Regions from separate parts of the Homo sapiens genome. Here all the other regions are linked to region 2. Evidence: promoter capture Hi-C in 16 types of primary human blood cells and fetal thymus (Javierre and others, 2016). All regions are on one chromosome and are shown on one strand. The core of a region is centred on a gene start or on the middle of the fragment in contact, and the rest is flanking DNA. Distances in the headings are between cores, read along the strand shown. Region 1 has its middle 51 kb from the start of LMTK2. Region 2 holds the start of BHLHA15 (basic helix-loop-helix family member a15). Region 3 has its middle 48 kb from the start of OCM2. Region 4 has its middle 30 kb from the start of OCM2.

What was found. Contacts are between HindIII fragments. The CHiCAGO score rates a contact against its expected background, and 5 or more counts as called.
Region 1: a fragment that was not itself captured here is called in contact with the fragment with the promoter of BHLHA15 in region 2 in 1 of 17 cell types (neutrophils); the score reaches 5.1 in neutrophils.
Region 3: a contact is called between a fragment that was not itself captured here and the fragment with the promoter of BHLHA15 in region 2, in 1 of 17 cell types (neutrophils). The highest score is 7.0, in neutrophils.
Region 4: a contact is called between a fragment that was not itself captured here and the fragment with the promoter of BHLHA15 in region 2, in 15 of 17 cell types (total B cells, M1 macrophages, erythroblasts and 12 more). The highest score is 11.4, in total B cells.

The regions. Positions count from the first base shown.
Region 1 is chr7:98,053,533-98,058,358 of GRCh38, reverse strand. No RefSeq gene overlaps it. Among named protein-coding and RNA genes, the nearest start is that of LMTK2, 51 kb to the left of the region's middle. The HindIII fragment of the contact is 2,099 bases long and covers 1,097-3,195 here.
Region 2 is chr7:98,208,104-98,212,757 of GRCh38, reverse strand. BHLHA15 (basic helix-loop-helix family member a15) reads right to left here and starts at 1,319. Exons shown (of 2, transcript NM_177455.4): 1 at 1,260-1,319; 2 at 1-502. The coding sequence starts at 448. It overlaps LMTK2 (lemur tyrosine kinase 2), which reads right to left. Exons shown (of 14, transcript NM_014916.4): 14 at 3,120-4,654. RefSeq lists a silencer at 1,258-1,447. The HindIII fragment of the contact is 21,052 bases long and covers 1-2,953 here.
Region 3 is chr7:98,035,466-98,040,043 of GRCh38, reverse strand. No RefSeq gene overlaps it. Among named protein-coding and RNA genes, the nearest start is that of OCM2, 48 kb to the right of the region's middle. The HindIII fragment of the contact is 1,376 bases long and covers 1,160-2,535 here.
Region 4 is chr7:98,018,385-98,022,775 of GRCh38, reverse strand. No RefSeq gene overlaps it. Among named protein-coding and RNA genes, the nearest start is that of OCM2, 30 kb to the right of the region's middle. The HindIII fragment of the contact is 3,693 bases long and covers 824-4,391 here.

The sequences.
Region 1 (4,826 bases), core at 897-3,396, 160 kb after region 2:
CACCCATCAGCTATCATCTGCTTGAAGTCTTTTGTTTCTGGAAACTTCTGTTCCAAGAAAACCTGCCGAGCTCGTTCCCACATTGGGTCCTACATGGTCATTGTTCTCTGTTGCGGGACGTCCTTCTTGTGGCTCAGTCAGTGGTTGACTTTTCCTCCTGTGGGACACGTGATCTGGCAACATTTTGGTTGTGGGGACTTGGGGGCTGGGGGATAAGAAGAGGGCTACTGGCATCCAGCGGGCAGAGGCCATGGATGCCGCTCAACACCCTATTGGGCACAGGGAGCACAAGATAGCCCAGTTCCTCCAACTGCAAAGAACTATCTAGCTCCAAACATCCACAGTGCCCAGGTGGAGAAATCCAGTTTCACATCTTTCCATAACTCATTCCTTAACTCTGTCCTTTTTGCCTTTCAGGATTCAGCTCCAAAGCCACCTTCTCGCAGTGGCTCACACCTGTAATCCCAACACTTTAGGAGGCTGAAGCAGGAGGATCATGAGGTCAAGATTTCGAGAACTTCCTGGCTAATATGGTGAAACCACATCTCTACTAAAAATGCAAAAATTAGCTAGGCTTGGTAGTGCATACCTGTAATCCCAGCTACTTGGGAGGCTGAGGCAGGAGAATCCCTTGAACCTGTGAGGCAGAGGTTGCAATGAGCCGAGATCGCACCACTGCACTCCAGCCTGGCAACAGAGCGAGACTTTGTCTAAAAAAAAAAAAAAAAAGCCACCTCTTTCTCCAAGAGACACTGTCTCACTATCCATTGTAAAGTAGCACTCCTCCCCATCACCTGCCTTCATTTTCTTGTTTCGTGAGAATGGGGTCTCACTATGTTGCCCAGGCTGGTTTGAAGTCCTGGGCTCAGGCGATCCTCCCACCTCTGCCTCCCTAAGTGCTGGGATTATAAGCAGGAGCCACCATGCCCAGCCAAGCTTCATTTTCATCTACCATTATTACTATTGTTATTTTAAGAGATGGGGTCTCACTATGTTGCCCAGTCTGGTCTCAGGTTCCTGGGCTCAAGCAATCCTCCTGCCTCTGTCTCCCTAAGTGCTGGGATTATGGGCAGGAGCCACCATGCCCAGCCAAGCTTCATTTTCATCTACCATTATTACTATTATTATTTTAAGAGATGGGGTCTCACTATGTTGCCCAGGCAGGTCTCAACCTCCTGGGCTCAAGCAATCCTCCCACCTTGGCCTCCCAAAGTGCTGGGATTCCAAGTGTGAGCCACAGTGCCCGGCCTGGCCTCATTTTCTTCAGGACCTCATCATCACTTGAAATCATCCTGCTTATTTATTTTTTGTTGTTTTTGTCTGCCTCCCCGCTCCCAGCCCTCCCCAAGACATCCCAGAAGATTTTCACAGCCACTGTGGATGGGAATTATTACTGTCTAGCCATCTCCGCCCCCGTCATCACCCCCGCCACCCCCAGGGAGTCATTAATTGAAGGTTTGTTCTTTCCTTGTAGCCAGCAGATACTTTTCCCCCTCTCCTAGATCTCCTTCTGAAGGTGAGTGCTGCTGGCTTGGACCTGTCTGAACAAGCATCACTTTATGCGGTTTTACTGGTACTTTCTAGTCTTGCCAAGGCTGTGAGGGTGGCTGTAAAGACGGTCGGCCTAGCTTTGCGTTGGAACAAGCTATTGAGGCTGTCCTGTTCCTTCTGAACACGCCTCATTGACTGGGTGTTTCCCTGTGGTCTAGACATAGCCCTGGAACCAGAGCCGAGGCCAAGGTCCCAGCAAATCTAAACCTCCTCTTATTTCAGAATTAGAATCCCAAGATAACAGGAGAAGGGGAGCTGTTATGGGCTGATCATGTTCCTCCAAAATTCATACGTTGAAACCCTAACCCCCATACCTCCGAATGGGACTCTATCTGGAGACGGGGCCTTTAAAATGGTGATTAAGTAAAAATGAGCCAGTCAGGGCGGGCTTTAATCCAGTACGACTGGTGTACTTATGAGAATAGATTAGTGGCCAGGCACGGTAGCTCACACCAGTAATCCCAGCAATCTGGGAGGCCGAGGTGGGAGGATCACTTGAACCCAGGAGTTCAAGATGAGCCTGGCCAAACTGATGAAACCCTGTCTCTACTAAAAATACAAAAATCAGCCAAGCATGGTGGCACACACCTGTAGTCGCAGCTACTTGGGAGGCCAAGGCAGGAGGATTGCTTGAGCCCGGGAAATGAAGGTTGTGGTGAGCTGAGATGGCGCCACTGCACTCCAGCCTGGATGACAGAGAGAGACCCTGTCTCAAAAAAGAAGGAGAAGAAGAAGGAGGAGGTGGAGGAGAAGGAGAAGTGATTAGCACACAGACACACACGGAGGCTGACATATGAAGACCCAGGAGGAAGACAGCCATCTACAAGACAAGGAGAGAGAGCTCCAAAGGGCACCAACCCTGCCAACACCTGAACTGTGGGCTTCTGGCCTCAATAATTGTGAGACAACACATTTCTGTTGCTGAAGCCACCCGGACTGTGGTATCTTGTGATGGTGGCCCCAGAGAACTAATACAGGGGCCAGCCTAGGCTCTAACCCCTCACTCCTCAAGCACTGTTAGGAAGGTAGCCTCATCTCCCCAAGGGTCCTATTCTTCCTTTGTAGCAAGGAGATGGTAAGATGCTTCTACTTTATTGAGCTGCTATGAAGAGCAAATGAGATAGACCTGATGTTTGTTTCTTTTTCTTTCTCTTTCTCTTCTTCCTTTGTTCCTTCTTTTCTTTCTTTTTCCTTTCCTTTCTTTCCTCTCCTCCCTCCCTCCCTCTTTCTCTTTCTTTCTTTCTCTTTCTCTTCCTTCCTTTCTTTCTTTCTTTTCTTTTCTTTTTCTTGCTTTCTTGCTTCTTTCCACAGACTCTTGCTCTGTCACCCAGGCTGGATTGCAGTGGTGCAATCCTGGCTCACTACAGCCTCAAATTCCTGCGCTCAATCAATCCTCCTACATCAGCCTCCTGAGTAGCTGGGACCACAGGTGCATGCCACCATGCCTGGATAACTTAAAAAGTTTTTTTTTATTTTTATTTTTTTGTAGAGATCGGGTCTCGCTCTGTTGCCCAGGCTGGTCCTGAATTCCTGAGCTCAACCAATCCTCCTGTCTTGGCTTCCCAAAGTGCTGGGATTATAGGCATGAGCCACCATGCCCAGCTAAGCCAACCCTTCTTGAGAGCACCAAATATGCCCCAAGCTTTTGTGCATGATCTAGTATGCACCTACCTTGTTCAATTCTCCAGCAACTCTTGGCAAGGGTTCTGTTTTATCCATTTTACAGTTCAGGAAACCAAGGCCCAGAGAGATCAAGTAACTTGCTCAAGAGCACACCAAGATCAGCACAGATATGGCGCTGAATGTGAATGCAAGTTTGCCTAAATCCAAAACCCAGGTCTTTAACCACAAGGTAGGTATATGGTACTCTGATGTACAGGAGAGCCCTGCACTTATTAGTTCTATTATTTACAATATACTAGTAAGTTACTATTCACCACTAAAAAAAAGTTGAAGGCCAGGCACAGTGACTCACACCTATAATCCCAACACTTTGAGAGGCTGAGATAGGAGAATTGCTTGAGGGCAGGAGTACAAGACCAGCCTGGGATCCGATCTCTACTAAAGATCTTTAAAAATTAGCCAGGCATGGTGGCACATGCCTGTGGTCTCAGCTACTCAGGAGGCTGAGGGGGCAGGATCACTTGAGCCCGGGAGGTTGAGGCTGCAGTGAGCTATGATAGCGCCACGGCACTCCAGCCTGTGCAACAGAGCAAGATCCTATCTCTAAACAAAACTTTAAAACTAAGAAAAATAATTTGTGCAGCCATCACTGTGATCCATTTCCATAACTCTTTCATCATCCCAAATAAGATGTCTGAACCTATTAAAGGTTCAGAGGGCACACAGACTCCACTTTTCAGGAGAGGTCTATCAGTCAATTTGTAAAAAGAGCACATAGGATAGATAAATATATTGATGAGGACATCTTTGAAAAATACAGTCTGCTCCAGATGAGGAGGCTGAATACATAAGTGCTAAGACATTGCTCAGTCATAGAAATGGCCATGGGTAGAGGTGGCTGATCATGGACAACGTGATTTGGGGCTTGGCAAAAATATAGTATTTTACATGGTGGGAAAAAGGAAGCAAAGACAGCCAACACCGGCTGGAGAAAAGCCTAAGACTTGGCAACTCCTTTTTGACACGTGTGGCCAGTGCTGTGAGGTTGAGTTTCCATGGGACTCTACAAACTGATGGCTTGTGACCAACACTGCCACATATAAATCCAGCACGTCTTTGGGAGCCAGAGCCAAGAGCCCCAACAAAGAACCAGTTACATGGATGAGTTTAGAATCCAATGAAGGTGGCCTAGTAGCTCATCCCCGTAATCCCAGCACTTGGGGAGGCCGAGCCCGGAGGCTCACTTGAGGCCAGGAGTTCAAGACCAGCCTGGCTAACATGGTGAAACCCCATCTCTACTAAAAATACAAAATTGCCTGGGCGTAGTGGCTCACGCCTGTAATCCCAACACTTTGGGAGGCCAGGGCAGGAGGCTTACTTGAGGCCAGGAGTTCAAGACCAGCCTGGCCAAAGTGGTGAAACTCCATCTCTACTAAAAATGCAAAAATTAGCCAGGCATGGTTGCACACGTCTATAATCCCAGCTACTTGGGAGGCTGAGGCAGGAGAATTGCTTAAACCCGGGAGGCAGAGGTTGCAGTGAACCAAGATCATGCCATTGCACTCCAGCCTGGGCAATAAGAGCGAAACTCTGTATCAAAAAAAAAGAAAGAAAGAAAAAAAAAAAGAAAACCAAGGAGGAAAGATTGGCTG
Region 2 (4,654 bases), core at 70-2,569:
AGAGCTTGGGGCCCGGCCCCTCCAGGCCTGGGAGGCGGCTGCTGGACATGGTCAGGATGGTGGCCGTCAGCGATTTGATGTAGTTCTTGGCCAGCGTGAGCGTCTCGATCTTGGAGAGCTTCTTGTCCGCGCGCACGTGGGGGATGACTTCACGCAGGGCCTGGAAGGCGTTATTTAGCTTGTGCATCCGCTGCCGCTCCCTCTCGTTGCTCTCCAGCCGCCGCTGGATGCTGCTGTCACGACGGCCACCGGGCCCGGAGGGTCCTGGCCGCCTGCGCCTGCCCTCGCCCGGAGCCCTTGCTGCGGCCCGGGCCGGCCGGCTCCGCAGACCCTTGGCCGGCTCTGGCCCCGGGTTCGGCAGGGACCCGTCGGGCGTCCCCTCCCCGGGGGTGGCCTCTGTGTCCTGCACCGGGGCCCGGCGCCGTGGGGGCCGGTTCTTGGTCTTCATGGCCCTGGACTGGCTGTCCTAGGAGGTGGCGGCAGGAAGGTGAGGCCCTTGGAGCTGAAATCCAGAACACAGGACACTCTGTGGTCACCCCACATGGGCAGGGGACCCGCTGGGGTGCCGTCCCTGGCAGCCTCCTCCTTGCTGACAGCAATGGTACCAGGGGCAGGGGTTGGCGCTCTGCGACTGGAGGTCCTTCTGTTCACACGCTTAGCCCTGGGCTGACCCCACACACACCCACGCCCTTGCTTTACCTCAAACAGACCTCTGGAATCTGTCCCTGTCCCTGCGTCCCCCTTCCCCCAGGATGACTCATCCTGACCCCTAGATCTTCCTCTGGCTCATGCCCCTCACTGCCCCCAGAGTGCCTCCTGAGCTCGGTGACCTTTGACACTTTGCCTAGAATGCGTCCCCCACCCTAGCTTAGGGGGCGCCTCTGCCGGAGGCGGCACTGACTTCATCCCGTGGGCGGGCAGTGACTCCAGCCACCAGGCTCTCACTGTCCTGCCCCGCTGGACGTGACACGTGCAGGGACAGCACTGGGGCCAGAACCGCTGCGGACATGGGACAGCACTGGGGCCAGAACCGCTGCGGACATGGGGCAGCCGTGGAGGTCAGAGGTCGGCAATGGCCAGGGCCTGGCGGCAGCCCCCAATCCCACCACGTGGATGGGCCCCGTGGAGCCTCCAGACAGACCAGAAGTCCCCCACCCGGGTTTCCCCACAGCCCCCACAACCCCCACAACCCCACCGCCAGGTCCTGCCCCTGGGTCCCCTCCCCGCGGCCCCACCCGAGTTCCCAGCTCCCGGGTTACCTGGGGATCCGCGGCCACACGCGCCGAGGCTGCCCACGGGGGACAAGGACACGTCGCTTTAGCCGCCCCGGGAGGGGCCGCGGACGCATGCAAATGAGCCCTCGGGGCGGGGCCGGGGCGGGGCCGGGGTCCGGGTGTCCCGGCGGGCGCTGGGCAGCAGTGGCGGCACCTGCGGGCGGGCGGGCGGGAGGCCGGCGCCTGGGGCTCCCGGACCAGGTGGCCGCGCAGCCCCGCCCCCAGCTTCCGCCCCGCCCCCAAGATAGAAAACCTCCCCCGCCCGCCTCTCCCCATCCTCCCCCTACTGCCCCCCACCCTCGTCCCCCAAGACAGCCACCCCCGCCCGCCTCTCCCCACCATCCCCCGACAGCCCCCGACCCTCGTTCCCCCAGACAGCCTCCCCCACACGCTTCTCCCCATCCTCCCCCGACAGCCCCCCAACCGCCCCGAGATAGCTTCCCCCCATTCGTCTCTCCCCATTCTCCCGCTACAGCCCCCCCAAGACAGCCTGCGTCCCCACCTCCCCTACTCCCGTCCCCCGACAGCCTCCCCACAACCTGCTTTTCCCCATCCTCCCCCTCAATTTCCACTCGCGCCTTTCCCACCCGCCTACCCCATATCCGTGCCCGAGACAGCCTCCCCCCGCCCGCTTTCCCCGACCCTCCCCCTGACACAGCACCCCCGCATCCATGCCTCCCGCGATCCTCCTTGCCCGGCCTCTCCACTCGTGGCGGGGCCCGGGCCCATTCCGCCAATGGGAAACAGGTCTCTGGGAGCCGCCGGAAGGAGGGGCAGCCCCGATTCAGGCTCAGCACACAGATCCCAAGTCCCAGGAGCACTCCGGGACGAGCCGCTCCGCGAAAACGCGGGCATCTCCCAGGGGATCCCCCGCCCCGCCGCCCGGGATGTTTAGGGGAACCTGGGGCTCCTACGGGCTGGGGGCGGAGCCCGAGTTGGGGTGGGGGTGGGGGGCTCCTTGGGCAGGTGTGCAGTCCTTGGGAACGCCTGTTTTGTTTGTTTGTTTGTTTTTGAGACGGAGTTTCGCTCTTGCTGCCCAGGCTGGCGTGCAATGGAGCGAGATGATCTCGGCTCACCGCAACCTCCGCCTCCCGGGTTCAAGCGATTCTCCTGCCTCAGCCTCCCGAGTAGCTGGGATTACAGGCATGCACCACCACGCCCAGCTAATTTTTGTATTTTTAGTAGAGACGGGGTTTCTCCACGTTGGCCAGGCTGGTCTTCAACTCCTGACCTCAAGTGATCCACCCGCCTCGGCATCCCAAAGTGCTGGGATTACATGCGTGAGCCACCACGCCCAGCCAAAGCAGCATCTTGCTCAGGGACTATTCGGGGCTGCTAGGGGTGCGGTGACTGCACGCTGCTGGGGGTGCGGTGAGTGTCACGCTGGCTGGCAGGCCTGGGCTCCACACTCATGGGTCTCGCCGCTCTGTCTCAGTACCTCTGGGTGGGAACTCAGAGGGGCCATAGTGGGGCGGGGGGCGGGCACAGAAAGGCTAGCTTGGAGCCAAGGTTAGTTAGTTCTTCTCTTGGCCTAAAGCTCATTTGAGGCTGGGCCAAATGAGGTCCTTGGAAATGAAAATGCTTCCGAAATTCATGAGTGCAAAGGCATGGTTTATAGACATGCTTCAAGGTGGCAGGAACACTAAACAGGTTTGGTTTTCCAGTGGTTATACAAAGCTTTATGTCCTCAGGAGTGCGGGGAGTTTAGGTCTGTCACACAAGCTCCAGAGGGACCAGGGCAGGGGCCTGGAACACAGGCTGCGGGCGCTCACAGCAGGGCAGGGCCAGGCCACCCACCCAGGTGGCCCTTGCACGGTGGACAAAACACAGAAGAAACGCGGCCAACAGAGTTTATAAATATATAACTATATTTATTTTGAATATTAAATAGTTTTTAAATTACAAGCAATTTATTGAATCACACTATGCATCAATATACAGTAAAAATCTTACAATTTAAAAATGTACACAATTTAAACTGAAAGTTCATTGACTATTATATTGCCATGAACCTCTTCTGCCTGTGTTAAAGCACAGCAGGGAGGCCTGGTGGGTGTGACGGCCCCCTACGTCCTCCTCTGCAGACGGAATCCGACGGTGGATCCATACACCAGCCCCATGATCAAGATCCCGCTCGGCCCACGTAGGCCTGAGTGCTTAACCAGCACGTGTCCACACCGGTCAAACTGATCTTCACAGGCTGTTGGTAATTCAACACTGTCAATGCATCTTTAAGAATTTCTTTATAGATGAAAGAGAATGTTCTTTGTTAATAAAGACTTGAGCCAACCCCATTGCTACTTAGGAATATTGTTTTGGAGATTTCCATCGGAAGTCACTGCGTATACCCATTCTTTTTTTAAGGCTACTTCCCATAAGGCTCATGTTTTGAAGCCACTCTAACAGAAGCCCAACCTCTGGCGTCTAACCCTTGGTTCACTTCTGAATTTTCAGATGATGGGCTGAGTTAAGGAAGAGCAGGCGCTGCCTTCCTTCCACCGGGGCCCTGGGGACAGGCATGCAGTAGGTCCTTAACTCTACAAATACCTTATTTCGGGAAACAGGAATAAAAGGAGGGGTTTGGAAAGGCCTTTTACAGCAGCAAGACAAACCAAGACTTTTCTTAGATAAACCCATTTCTATAGAAACGATCGAACCTGTACATTTAAAAATAGAACGAACGTTGTTTGCAATTCGGCTTGGTCGAGCTTTCTGCACCCTTACGGTGAATGGCTTCTCGTCCACACACACAGGCCAAGTCTCAGAAGGATGTGGGGAGCACTTTTTCTGGGTTGCCCTTTCTGGCTTATTGACAGGGTCATTCAAAAAGACAAATTCGCATCTAGCTAGTAAGGAAATGAAAACTAGATTATTTTTGTTATAGGATTTAAAATGTACAAACTCCACCAAAACAGGACTAATTCAGATTGATTCTGGGTTGCTACCCCATAGAAGGCCAGAAAATATTCTAACCTTCCCCCACATTATCTAGAGAATGCCACTGATTTAGTTCATTGTACAACTTATTAGAACAAGTACATTTTGAAAACCCACCACTGATAACCAACTTATTAGTTAAAAAATAACAAAACAAACAACAAAAACCTGAACTGAACACAGCACATGCTGACATTTCAAAAATGGGCTGCAATTTTTATTCTACTTAAATTTCCTGTGTATTGCTTGGATTTCAAAAAAACATGTTAACCCACGTGTTGATTATAAATATAAAATCTCGCCCCTCCATGCAACACCACACTAAGATCCACTACCCCCCAACTCAATGTATAAAATGCTTTTTTGGCAATTAATTATGAGTGACTCAAAATAAATAAAAATGGGAATTATGTTATGAAAAAAATTGTTTTTTTTTTTGAGAC
Region 3 (4,578 bases), core at 598-3,097, 170 kb after region 2:
AATTTCTTAGGGAAGATGGGTGCTCTTTATCTGCTGTGAGTTGAGTTGTGTGTCCCCAAAAAGATAAGGTGGAGACCTAACCCCGGTACTGTGAGTGTGACCTTATTTGGAAACAGTCTTGTTAGCTGTCATTAAGATGTAAGTTAAGATGAAGTCAGACTGGATAAGGGAGGGCCCTAAATCAAGTGACTGATGTCCTTTATAGAAAGAGAAGAGGGCCAGGCACAGTGGCTCACGCCTGTAATCCCAGCACTTTGGGAGGCCAAGGCGCGTGGATCACGGGGTCAGGAGTTTGAGACCAGCCTGACCAACATGGTGAAACCCCATCTCTACTAAAAATACAAAGATTAGCCAGGCATGGTGGTGGGCATCTGTAGTCCCAGCTACTCGGGAGGCTGAGGCAGGAGAATCGCTTGAACCCAGGAGGCAGAGGTTGTGGTGAGCCGATATCATGTCACTGCACTCCAGCCTAGGGAACAGAGCAAGCCTCTGTCTCAAGAAAAAAAAAAAAAATTAGCAGGGCATGTGGTGTGCTCCTGTAGTCCCAGCTATTTGGGAGGCTGAGGCAAGAGGATTGCTTGAGCCCGGGAGGTCAAGGCTGCAGGGAGCTGTGATTGCACCACTGGACAACAGAGCTAGACTCTGTCTCAAAAAAAAAAAAAGTTAATTAAAAAAACATAAAAGGGGCCAGGTGCAGTGGCCTGTAATCACAGCAATTTGGGAGGCCGAGGCAGGTGGATCACTTGAGGTCAGGAGTCAGAGACCAGCCTGGCCAACATGGTGAAACCCTATCTCTACTAAAAATACAAAAATTAGGTGGGCGTGGTGGCAGGTGCCTGTAATCCCAGCTACTCCGGAGGCTGAGGCAGGAGAATTGCTTGAACCCTGGAGGCGGAGGTTGCAGTGAGCCGAGATCACACCATTTCACTCCAGTCTGGGTGACAGAGCAAGACTCCATCTGAAAAATAAATAAATAAATAAAATAAAAGGAACTCTGTAACCAGCTCTTTCTGATTCCAAAGGGTGGCCAGGAAGCTGGCATCGTTCCTCAGGCACGGGTGGGAGAACCAGAGCAGGCTCCTCTCCCCCACGGTGCCATCTGTGCCCAAGAACCGCTCTCCCCACGTGGCTGGCTCTATTTCGGCAAGAGAAAGAAGCTTCTCAGATGTGAAGCCCACGGGAGACCCACACGTATGAAGCAGGAGACCAAAAAAAAAAAAAAAAAAAAGGCAGCTCAAAATAGATTCTGTCTACAGCAGAAAATGACCTGGTGCCAGAATGGAGAAAAGTGGCCAAAACGAGCCAGTTTCGAGGCTTTCTAGGGTGCACGCCAGCATTCTGTCTGGAACAGGGGGTACCTCGGGGACTTCAGGATTGTGTGGGCCCCTTGTGGGGTGCAGACGAACCTCCCCCTTCATTCAGAAGCCCGCCTCTATGGCCTGGCCTTTAAAAAAAAGCCATCTCCCGGGATGAACTGGAGGCAGAAGCCACAGCAATTACTTGGAAGGAAGATCTGACTGCAGAAACACAGTGATCTGCATAGCGAGATGTTTCTAAGGCTTGTGGGAGAAAGCCATGGTGGTTTCCAAGTAAACGGCTTTTTACAAATTAAGCACAGCTACAGACAACAGAAGCAAAAAATAGATAAATTGGATTACCTCAAAATTTAAAACTTTTGTGCATCAAAGGATACTATCGTCATAGCAAAAAGGCAACCCAGGAGAATGGGAGACAATATTTACAAGTCATATATATATATATGTCTTGTAAAAATATATTCTTTCTTTGAGACAGGGTCTCGCTCTGTCACCCAGACTGGAGTGCAGTGGTGAGATCTCGGCTCACTGCAACCTCTGCCACCAGGGTTCAAGTGATTCTCGTGCCTCAGCCTCCCAAGTAGCTGGGATTACAGGCACCCATCACCATCCTCAGCTAATTTTTGTATTTTTAATAGAGACGGGGTGGGGGGGTTTCACCATGTTGGCCAAGCTGGCCTCGAACTCCTGACCTCAAGTGATCCGCCTGTCTTGGCCTCCCAAAGTGCTGCGATTACAGGCGTGAGCCACCACGCCTGGCCCACAGGTTATGTATCTGATAAGGGGTTAATATCCAGATTATGCATAAAGAACACCTATAATTCAACAGTTTTTCTTAAACCTGATAAAAATGGATTTGAACAGACATTTCTCCAAAAATACACAAATGGCCAATAAGTACATGAAACGATGTTCACCATTATGAATCATTAGAAAAATGCAAATCAAAACCACAGTGAGATAGAGCACTCTACCCATTAGGATGGTCACTCAAGAAAAAATTGAAAATGAGTGTTCGTGAGGATGTGGAGAAATTGGAACTCTTGCCTACTGCTGGTGGGAATGGAAAATTGCACAGCCATTGTTGAAAATAGTTTGACAGCCCCTCAAAAAATTAAGTCAAAAATAGGGCCAGGTGTAGTGGCTCATGCCTATAATGCCAACACATTGGGAGGCCAAGGCGGGAGGATCACTTGAGCCCAGGAGTTTGAGACAAGCTTGGGCAACATAGTGAGCCCCCATCTCTACAAAAAAAAAAAAAAAAAAAACATACAAAAATTGGTTGTGTGTACTTATAGTCTCAGCTACTGGGAGGCTGCAGGAGGAGGATCGTTAGAGCCTAGGAGCTGGAGGCTGCAGTGAGCTGCACTCAAGCCTGGGCAACATAGTGAGATCCTGTCTCTAAAAAAAACTTTTTTGGGCCAGGTGTGGTGGCTCACGCCTGTAATCCCAGCACTTTGCGAGGCTGAGGCAGGCGGATCACCTGAGGTCAGGAGTTCAAGACCAGCCTGGCCAACATGGTGAAATCCCCATCTCTACTAAAAATACAAAATTAGCTGAGCGTGGTGGCACGTGCCTGTAATCCCAGCTACTCAGGAGGCTGAGACAGGGTAATCACTTGAACCCGGTGGTGGAGTTTGCAGTAAGCCAAGATTGTGCCATTGCACTCCAGCCTGGGCAGCATAGAATTACCTTATGAGCTAGCATTCCAAAGAACTGAAAGCAGGAACTCAAACTATTTGCACACCCATGTTCACAGCAGCATTATTCACAATAGCTAAAAGATAAATACAATCCTGCGGGTACAGTGGCTCATGCCTGTAATCCCAGCACTTTGGGAGGCCGAGGCAGGCGGATCACGAGGTCAGGAGATCGAGACCATGTTGGCTAACACGGTGAAACCCCATCTCTACTAAAAATACAAAAAACTAGCCGGGCATGGTGGTGGTGGGTGCCTGTAAGTCCCAGCTACTCAGGAGGCTGAGGCAGGTGAATCGCTTGAACTCAGGAGGCGGAGGTTGCAGTGAGCAGAGATTGCACCACTGCACTCCAGCCTGGGTGACAGAACGACAATCTGACTAAAAAAAAAAAAAAAAAAAAAAAAGATAAATGCAACCCAACTGTCCACCAGCGGATGGATGGGTAAACCAAATGTGGCCTATCCATACAATGGAAGATTATTCAGCTTACAAAGGAAACAAATCCTGGCACACGCTACAACATGGATAAACCTTGAGGACATTGTATTAAGTGAAATAAGCCAATCACAAACGGACAAATCCTGAATGACTCCACTTATATGAGTTACCTAGAGTCTCAAAATTATAAAGGCAGAAAGTAGAACAGCGGGTGCCAGGAGGTGGGGGGAGGCGGATGGAGAGTGAGTGTTTAATGGGGACAGGGTTTCAGTTTGGAAAGATGAAAAAGTTCTGAAGATGGAGGTGGATGACGGTTACATCACAGTGTGAAAGTATTGAATGTCATTGAACTGTATGCCTCAACATGGTTAACATGGCACGTTTTATGTTATGGACATTTTAAAACTATTTTTGAAAACGTTTTCAGGCCGGGTGCGGTGGCTCATGCCTCTAATCCCAGCACTTTGGGAGGCTGAGGTGGGTGGATTACCGGAGGTCAGGAGTTCAAGACCAGTCTGATCAATATGGTGAAACCCTGTCTGTACTAAAATTACAAAAATTAGCCAGGCATCATGGCACACATCTGTAATCCCAGCTACAGGGGAGGCTGAGGCAGGAGAATCGCTTGAACCCAGGAGGCGGAGGTTGCAGTGAGCCGAGATCGTGCCACTGCACTGTAGCCTGGGTGACAGAGTGAGACTCCATCTAAAAAAAAAAAATAAGTAAAATAAACAATTACTAAATAAATAAAATAAACATGTTTTAATAACTAGTGAACTAAAAATTTAAAAAATCACAAGATTCCCTTCCATAAATTCAGGAAACATCTAGAAATCTGCCAATCTATGGTGGAGTGAGCAGCTTCAGGGTCAGACATCCACAAGTCATCCCCAGTTGCCCGGGATCCAGGCCCCCTCAGCTCATAAGGAGGAAACAAACAATGGAAATCCAACCCAACCCCCTTCTCTTTCTTTTTCTTTTCTTTTCTTTCCTTTTTTTTTTTTTCGAGATGGAGTTTTGCTCTTATTGCCCAGGCTGGAGTGCAGTGGTGCGATCTCGGCTCACTGCAACCTCTGCCTCCCGGGTTCAAGCGATTCTCCTGCCTCAGCTTCCCAAGTAGCTGG
Region 4 (4,391 bases), core at 1,421-3,920, 190 kb after region 2:
AGGAAGGCATGGGCCCCTGGCCTGAGGCTCACTGCAGCTGTCCCAACCCTGTCACCAGCTCTGGGCTGTGGTTTGGTTTGGTTTGGTTTGATTTTAGAGACACAGTTTCACTATGTGATCCAGGCTGGAGTGCAGTGGTGCAATCATAGCTCACTGCAGCCTTGAACTCCTGGCCTCAAGTGATCCTCCCACCTCAGCCTCCTGAGTAGCAGGGACTATAGGTGCCCACCACCACATCTGGTTCATTTCTAAATTTTTTTGTAGAGATGTTGCCCAGGCTAGTCTTGAACTCCTGACCTCGAGCAATCCTCCTGCCTCAGCCTCCCAAAGTGCTGCAATTATAGGCTTGCATCACCCCACCTGGCTGATTTTTATTTGCCTATTTATTTATTTATTTATTTTTGAGACAAGGGTCTTATTCTGTCACCCAGGCTGGAGTGCAGTGGCACAGTCATAGCTCACTGCAGCCTCAAACTCCTGGCCTCAAACGACCCTCCCACCTCAGTCTCCTGAGTAGCTGTTCATGCTCAACACCTGGCTCATTTTTAAGTTATTTGTAGAGATGGGATCTTGCCATTTTTCCCAGAGTGGTCTTGAACTCCTCCTGGCCTCCAACGATCCTCCTGCCTTGGCCTCCTAAAGTGTTGGGATTACAGGGGTGAGCTGTTGCACCAGACCCCAGTGTTTGTCTCTGAGGGACTTCCCCACACATGACCTCACCTGACCTTCAGAGAAACCATCCAGAGGGAAAAGGGACAAGGTCATTACCTGCGCAGGGAGAGCCCTTGGGCCGGGTAAATGGCGCAAGGTATGGGCTGAAGCTTCCCTTGGGGAGGGAAGGGACATAGGTCATGGGACAAGGTGATGTGGCCTGGACACGGTGGGGCACTTTCTCATCCTGGGTGAAAGTAAGGACGTAGGAAGGATGGGAGCATGGAGTAATAGCAGAGTGGGTGACATGAGAAAGTGGAGGCCCGGCCTGAAAACGGAGGGGGACAATGGTGGGAGGTGATGGGCGGTGGAGATGCCAGCCCGGCCCAGCCGAGACTCAGAGCTGTGGCAGCGGCGCCCCCTGGTGGCCGTGATGGTGCCTGCTTCCCCTTCCCTGGAGATTTGATGGCAACATCACGGGAGAAATGATTCAAAGCTGAGCAGGTGCCAGGCACCGTTCAATGTACACGATACATGGGTGTTTCTCTTTTAAATTTTTTATTTAAAAGATTATTTTAAAAAATTTTAACGGGCAATTTTCCTTGGGTCTTGAAGTCATCATTTCTTTTTCTTTTTTTTTTCTGAGAGTCTCATTCTTTTGCCCAGGATAGAAAGCAGGGGCACAATCACAGCTCACTGCAGCCTCGACCTCCCACCTCCCAGGCTCAAGCAATCCTCCCACCTCAGCCTCCCGAGTAGATTGGACTACAGGTGCACACCACCACGCCCACCCAATTTATATATATTTTTTGTAGTGAGGAGATCTCACTGTGTTGCCCTGGCTGGTCTTGAACTCCTGTGCTCAAGTGATCCTCCCACCTCGGCCTCCCAAAGTGCTGGGATTACAGATGTGAGCCACCACGCCCAGCCTGCGTGGGTGTTTCTACAAAATCTTAAGTATCTCTCACAGCAACCCTGTGATTGCCACTATTATCACTATCCCTTTTCACAGCTGAGGAGACCCAGGTTCTGAGAACTGAGGACCGTGATATATCCTATGCAGTGCTATACTGGGATTTGAGAAACCCAGGCCCACCCAACCCACTTCAAAAACAAAGGTAGGCCAGGCGCAGTGGCTCACGCCTGTAATCCCAGCACTTGGGGAGGCCGAACCAGGTGGATCACTTGAGGTGAGGAGTTCGAGACCAGCCTGGCCAATATGGTGAAACCCTGTCTCTACTAAAAATAGAAAAATGAGCCAAGCATGGTGGTGGGCGCCTGTAGCCCCAGCTACTCGGGAGGCTGAGGCATAAGAATTGTTTGAACCTGGGAGACGGAGGTTGCAGTGAGCTGAGATCGCGCCATTGCATTCCAGCCTGGGTGACAGAGCAAGACTCTGTCTCAAAAAAAAAAAAAAATGTAGATCCAGCAATTCCACTTCTGGGTAGATGCTCCAAAGAATTGAAAGCAGGGACTCCAGCTGATATTTGTGGGATTTTTTAACCTCTTTTTTTTTTTTTTTTGAGATGGGGTCTGACTCTGTCCCCCAGGCTGGAGTGCAGTGGCAAGATCATAGGTCACTGCGGCCTCAACCTCCAGGCTAAAGCAATCCTCTTGCCTCAGCCGCTCAAGTAGCTGGGACTACAGGCATTCCCCACCATGCCCAGCTAACTTTTTTATTTTTTGTAGAGATGGGGTCTTGCTATGTTGGCCAGGCTGGTCTCAAACTCCTGGCTTCCAGCAATCCTCCCACCTCAGCCTCCCAAAGTGCTGGGATGACAGGCCTGAGCCACTGCACCCGTCCTCAACAGATATTTGTACACCCATGTTCATTGCAGCATTATTCACAATAGCCAAGAGGTAGAAGCAACCCAGGAGTCCACCTACCAATGAATGAACAAAATGTGTCTGTCCATACAATGAAATATTATGTAGCCCTGAAAAGGAAATAAATGCTGACACCTGCTACTGCATGGAGGAACCTTGAGGACATTATGCTCAGTGAAATCAGACAGTCACAGCTGGGCGCTGTGGCTCACACCTGTAATCCCAGCACTTTGGGAGGCTGAGGTAGGAGGATCACTTGAGCCCAAGAGTTCAAGACCAGCCTGAGCAATAAAGTGAGACCTCATCTCTACAAAAAAATTTTAAAAGCCAAGTGTGGTGGTGTATTCCTGTAGTCCCAGCTTCTAGAGAGGCAGAGGTGGGAGGACTGCTTGAGCCAGGGAGGCAGAGGTTGCAGTGAGCAGAGATCATGCCACTGCACTCCAGCCTGTGGGACAAAGCCAAACCCTGTCTCAAAAAAAAAAAAAAAAAGAAGAAGAAGAAGAAAGAAGGGAAGGAAGGGAGGGAGCGGAGGAGAGGAAATAAGTCAGTCACAAAGAGGCAAATATGGCCGGGTACAGTGGCTCACACCTGTAATCCCAGCACTTTGGGAGGCGGAGGAAAGTGGATCACTTGAGGTCAGAAGTTTGAGACCAGCCTGGCCAACATGGTGAAATCCTGTCTCTAATAAAATACAAAAAATTAGCTTGGCATGGCGGCGCACGCCTGTAATCTCAGCTACTTGGGAGGCTGAAGCACAAGAATCACTTGAACCCAGGAGGCAGAGGTTGCAGTGACCCAAGATTGTGCCACTGCACTCCAGCCTGGATGACAGAGTGAGACTCGTCTCAAAAAAAAACAACAAAAAGGCCGGGCGAGGTGGCTCATGCACTTTGGGAGGCTGAGGTGGGTGGATCACCTGAGGTCAGGAGTTCAAGACCAGCCTGGCTAACATGGCAAAACCCCGTTTCTACTAAAAATACAAAAAAATTAGCCGGGCGTGGTGGTGCGCGCCTGTAATCCCAGCTACTCAGGAGGCTGAGGCAGGAGAATCGCTTGAACCTAGGAGGCAGAGGTTGCAGTGAGCCGAGATTGCACCACTGCACTCTAGCTTGGGCAACAAGAGCAAAACTCCAAAAAAAAAAAAATGGCAAATACAGCATGATTCCACTTATATAATGTACCTAGAATAGTCAAACTGATAGAGACAGAAAAAAAGTAAAATGTTGGTTATCAGAGCCTGGGGATAAGGGGGATGGAGAGTGAGGGTTAATGGGGACAGTTTCAGTTTGGGAAGATGGAAAAGTTCTGGAGATGGATGGTGGTGACAGTTGCATAATATTTTGTTTATTTCTCTCTCTGTCTCTCTTTTTTTTGAGACAGAGTCTCGCTCTGTTGCCCAAACTGGAGTATGGTGGCGCAACCTCGGCTCACCACAACCTCCGCCTCCCAGGTTCAAGCAATTCTCCTGCCTCTGCCCCCTGAGTAGCTGGGATTATAGGTGCACACCACCACACCCAGCTAATTTTTGTATTTTTAGTAGAAACGGGGTTTTGTCACGTTGGCCAGGCTAGTCTTGAATTCCTGACCTCCTGCCTGCCTCAGCCTCCTAAAGTGCTGGTGTTACAGGCGTGAGCCACCATGCCCAGCCCGGTTGCACAATATTTTTGATGTAATAAATGCCACTGAATTGTACCCTCAAAAATAGCTAAAATGGCAAATTTTATGTTATGCATATTTTACCATAATTAAAAAAAAAAAAAAGCAAGTGTAGGATCCACTCCCAGCCGGGGCTCTGGCCCTGCCCTGGCCCCACAATGGAGGAAGGTGCTTCTCTCCCATTAAGGTGGACACGCATTGACCAGGATTTTGAGCATGTGGTTTTTCCCTTCCCTAGCCCGGGCCTCGACCTTCTA